Linked DNA regions of Homo sapiens: region 1 is linked to region 2. The links are contacts of gene promoters, found by promoter capture Hi-C in human tissues and cell types (Jung and others, 2019). All regions are on one chromosome and are shown on one strand. The core of a region is centred on a gene start or on the middle of the fragment in contact, and the rest is flanking DNA. Distances in the headings are between cores, read along the strand shown.

The links. Contacts are between HindIII fragments. The study calls those that stand out against the background at their distance.
Region 1: a fragment that was not itself captured here is called in contact with the fragment with the promoter of ANGPT1 in region 2 in 1 of the 25 tissues and cell types used here (IMR-90 fibroblasts).

What each region holds. Positions count from the first base shown.
Region 1 is chr8:106,691,632-106,694,331 of GRCh38, forward strand. It overlaps OXR1 (oxidation resistance 1), which reads left to right. Exons shown (of 17, transcript NM_001198533.2): 7 at 1,097-1,246. Among named protein-coding and RNA genes, the nearest start is that of OXR1-AS1, 35 kb to the left of the region's middle. The HindIII fragment of the contact is 5,852 bases long and covers 1-2,700 here.
Region 2 is chr8:107,496,536-107,499,235 of GRCh38, forward strand. It overlaps ANGPT1 (angiopoietin 1), which reads right to left and starts at 1,383. Exons shown (of 9, transcript NM_001146.5): 1 at 727-1,383. The coding sequence starts at 1,023. The HindIII fragment of the contact is 10,393 bases long and covers 1-2,700 here.

The sequences.
Region 1 (2,700 bases), core at 15-2,514, 810 kb before region 2:
ATATATATATACACACACATATATTTATATTTGTGTGTGACTAATGCGGTTAACTCAGTTTTGGGGGAATTGAGGAATCACAAAATTTGTTGATAGCTTTTTGCCAGTTTGCAGGGGACCCTCTTATAGCTCTGCATCAGCTATTTTTTTCTTAGCATATTTTTGAGTTGTTTGGTAGAAGATTTGAAAGGGAAGCGATACAATATTACAGTTAAGCTCACTGGTTTGTGTGTTGATAACATAGGTTTGCATCTTAGCTCCTTACTCATTTGTCAAGTTATTGAACTTGGCTAAGCTTAAGTTCAACAAAAAAAAACCAAGAAGCGTATATATGTGTGTGTGTGTCTATATATATACACACACACACACACACATATATATATACACATATATATATAACTATACCTCTAGTTTGTTTTTAAAAAATGTTTTAATACCATGTTGTTTCCATTTGTTTTTCCTTATAATTCTCTATTTTATTTTGACCATTCCAAAACATTCTGAGAAGCTGGTTCATAGGCTTCACTGTAAGAATGGTCAGTAGCACCAAAAAAGTTAAGAAACTTGTGATCTAGTGGAATGGGATTTATCAACTGTAGCTCGAGATTTAAAAGGCTATTCCAGTGAATGGGTTCTGCTGTATGCTTAGGTACTAAGGTAAGCTTTCCACCTTTTTACTGCTCCCAGCACCTGATGGATATTATATTATATGGTCTTATCAGAGTCAGTGGTTTAATTCAGGAGCATCTGAGTGTGTGTGCACGTGTGTGTATGTGTTGGGTGTGGGTACAAGAGATGTAGTGTTCACTGTTCTCCAGATTATTTTATTTTTTAAATTTATAGATATGTGTATCTCCCTATTAAAAATCACTATAAATGTAAGTTTAACCTGTGTTTGTGATCTTTATTGAATATGAAAATAGTGCCACTTTTGTCCTATAATTTGTACGTAAAAATATTTCGGGCTGACTTCCAGAATGCGGTGAAATGAAACAACACTTATTGGGGAAAGCTATTCATTTGACTTTTTAATAGTGTGCTCATTTTTATTTTGTTTTCTGCTTTTTTTTTTCTTTCCTTTAAAAAAAAAAAAAAGAATCCTGATGTCCATCCAACAGAAGCAACTCCCTCATCTACTTTCACTGGTATTCGACCTGCACGAGTTGTATCTTCAACTTCTGAGGAGGAGGAAGCATTTACTGAGAAATTTCTTAAAATTAATTGCAAATATATTACCAGTGGCAAGGTAAAGAATGACACTTTAGAGAAGACCTTTAATCATGCTTTAGTTATTACTAATGTATGATAGTTTGGCATTTACATTTTAAGTCATCAATGTCAGAAAATGCTTGAATATTATAGAAAGGTACTAGTGATACTATTATTTTGGGTTAGTATGGATGTTGCTTATAACTTAGAGTCTGGTGATCTGTTGTAATTGTTAAAAGTAATGGAATATAAATAAATTCACTAAGGCACAGCTAAGTTGCTGTTGGTAGGATATTTCAAAAGTGTGAATAAAATGACTGCTGCCAGGTACTGTGTGGAGTGTGAACTTCTGTATAACTAGTATAGCACACAAATAGGAAGATATCTAGTATTTATTGAGTACCTTCTATATGCCAGAGAGTATTTGAGGTATCTTAATTATTTTATCAATTCAAAACAATCTTGTGAAATAGGCAGTCATATTTCTTTTCCACAGGGAAAAACAAAACAGGAAGGGTTCATAGGAAAGGTTAATAGGTCCAAGATCTCTCTATAATGGCCAGAATTCAAACCTAGTCAGAATCTTTTTTTTTTTTTTTTTTTTTTGAGATGAAGTTTCGCTCTTATCAGCCAGGCTGGAGTGCAATGGCGTGATCTCGGCTCACTGCAACCTCTGCCTCCTGGGTTCAAGCAATTCTCCTGCCTGAGCCTCCTGAGTAGCTGGGATTATAGGCACTCGCCACCACATCTGGCTAACTTTTTGTATTTTTAGTAGAGACAGGGTTTCACCATGTTGGTCAGGCTGGTCTTAAACTCCTAACCTCAGGTGATCCACTTGCCTCGGCCTCCCAAAGTGCTGGGATTACAGGTGTGAGCCACCGCACCCAGCCCAGAATCTATTTTGTCTGCTTCACTTTGTTGCTTTTCTAAGCAAAAACTTCTAATCTGAAAAGAGAATATAGTAAAGTAATAGAGTTGGAAAATAAACTCCAGATTTTGCTCAAAAAATGTCTATAACATGATACTGCCTTTAGAATTCACACATGAGAACTATTTCTTTGAAGTATAATTCATAAATTTATGAGTATTTGAAACACATAATAAGCATTTAGTGGTATGCATTTTGCCCTAAATATTGTTTTAAATGTTGTGTTTTCATTTTCATTTACTTTAAAATATTTTCTCTTGATTTCTTCTTTGACCCATTTGAGAGTGTTTTATTTTTCTAGATAACTGTCTTTTACTAATTTCTAATTCGATTCTGTGTGATCAGAGAACACACTACTATTTGAAGGCTTTATTTAGACCTGTTTTATGGTCTAGAATATCGTATGTTTTAATAAATGTAATGTGTGCACTGTAAGAGACACATTATATTTGTGTTGGGTGGAATATTCCACAAGTGTCAATCAAATCAAATTGAGTGATAGTGTCCTGTATTTCTGATTTTCTGTCTGTCAGTTGTTGATAGAAGAATTTTGAACTATCTCA
Region 2 (2,700 bases), core at 133-2,632:
CATGCTGCGTTCAGCCCATATCTGCAGGTGCATGTCTTCCTCAACAGCCAGCATGCCCTCATCGTGAGCGAGCAACCCCTTTCCGACAGTTAACATTACAATGTATCTTTTTAATTTTTTTTCTCAAGGACAGAAGAAAAAAATATTTAACAGAAATCAGTCTACTATTCTACCACTTGCTGAAACTAACAGTTCCCTTTACATAAATATACAATTTCTCCAACCAAATATCATATTTTATATTTACTCTCACTTCATGTTAATTTTTATAAAGGTTAAAAAAACAAATACTTTGTGATGATTTGCCACCCCAGCGGCACAAAATTTTCTGGTGCAAAATCGATTTGATCTTATTAATTAATATTGTCATTATTATTTATTTTTCACCAACTTGCTTAAGAGGTACATACTTTCTTTCTTAAGGTAGTGTTTTGACAGAGAGAACCTTAATGCTGAACTTTAGAAAAGAGAAACCAAAAATGTCATAAAATTTGCCAGGGCTAGACACACAAACGGGGTGCCCCCACACATTCATAGGTTTGGGCAAGCCCCCAAACCTTGGCTTACCCAGGAAGCCAAACCCAGACAGCCGTCTTGCAATTGCAAACACTGCCCCCCTGGAGCAAAAGGTAAATACACAAATGCTCCCCTAAGGAACTTTAAGTTAGCTGCAGTGCAAGAAAGGAAAAAGGTCCGTGCTATTAGAAACTGAAAGCAATCACTTACTTTTTGCAGCCACTGAGTATAATTTTCCATCACATGTTCCAGATGTTGAAGTTTCTGGGAAGAGAAATCCGGTTCCACGTGTGGAGCATCTCTCTGCAGAGCGTTTGTGTTGTACTGGTCTGTCGTACTCTCACGACAGTTGCCATCGTGTTCTGGAAGAATGAAAGTGTAGGCACATTGCCCATGTTGAATCCGGTTATATCTTCTCCCACTGTTTTCTGGACTTCGGCGCTGATTGCTGCACCCTATGTGAGTCAGAATGGCAGCGAGGAAAGCAAAGGAAAGGAAAACTGTCATTGTACTGCCAGCACACTCCTTCCGTGCCTCTCGCAAAACTTGCTCCTTTCTTCTGACCTCTAAAACTAGTTCTTTATTTCAGGTAAAACTGCTTGTTTGTTTGACTCTTTCCCCCTCAAAGAAAGCGTTTGAAGAAGAATCATAGAAAACTAGCCATTTGTTAGCTTTGTTCTAAAATTTTAAAATTTTTTATTTCACTGCAATGATGTTTTTCTTCGTTAAAACTTGAGATATTTATTGCATAGTAGCTGAGATTTATTGTTTCCTCTCTGTGTGACCGTTCAGCATGGAGCCTGCCTGAGTCAGCTGCGTGTACATATTCTAGACCCTTTCCTCTACCCTATCTGCTGCAGATCTGCTATTTTCTCCCAGACCTCAGTGAGTTTTATTAAGGTTGCACATCCAAGCCAAGCTGGAAGCAGGCAGCCTTTCACAAGATGACTTGACAGGAATGCATGAGTGTGCCCCTATACTAAGGATTGCTGATGGCTTAGGGCGGCGGGATCGTCTTACAAATTGGCTAGATGCGCATGACCTCGATCATGTATGGCCCTCCCGCCCCTTTCCACAGACAATTGCCTTGAGCCTTTAGCAGATTCATGGCAAATCAATAAATAGAGCAGTCCACCTTAATACACTTTTGGTGTGCATGCTGACCTACTAAAATATAGCAAACTAGCAGTATGTTTTTAAAGTTACTATTTAGTCGAGGGACCCTAAGAAGAAAATTGGCATAATGTCCAATGGAATTATTTTTGATAGAGAATGATAAACCCATATCATTATTAAATGTCTTTAAAAAACATGTATTCTTGACTCTGAGGAAAAATATGTTAAAAAACAGTTTTTACAGATGGTATTCTTTCATTGTATTCACTTAGACTTTTAGGAGTTGAAGAAAATAATCAGAGAGGATCAAATTAGCAAGAAAATTAGCATCATTTGTTGCTCAAAGCAATATGTTGCACAAAGCAATATAGTATGTGCATATTAAAGAGGGTTATCTAAGTACCTTTTGGTATAGGGTTCTTAAATGAAACTGGTGTCCTGATCAGAATGCAACCCTTCATGTTCTGTGTATATAAATTGAGCAACTTCCCTACAAAAACAATGTGGCTACAATTTAAAGCAGTGGCTTGAGAATTATTAATTCCTGTGGTATATCCTAATCCTGTATTTTACAAGGATCTCTTTGGTGGCTATGGCTGTCTTTAACACTGGTGTGGAAGTTCCACATAAAAACCTCCTGTGGCTGCACAGACATACTATGTGAGAACAAGCATATATCAGGTGTGCTAACAGCCAGCAATGGGCTGTACAGGAGACATCTCTGTGCTTCTGTGAAGGAAGAAAGAAAAATTATCAGAAGATGATTTCCCACAGGCAGCGTATAAACATTTGAACAAAGGGACCCATAAACATAAACAGGCAATAATTGTAGAATTTAGGGAACGGCTTTGAGATCTTTACTAGATGCAGAAAACCTGAATTATGAGTTGGGATTTTCATTAGGAACTGGGAGGGCTTTTAGACAACTGCAGTCATGGTGTGAAAACAGAAGCCACAGCTGTCATCTCCCATGTCTTGGAAGGAGAACAGGGCAGTGGGTGAAGGTCCGTAGTGGTTAGAGATGGGCATTTAGGGAGAAGTTAGAGGAGAGGTCAAAACAAATTCCAG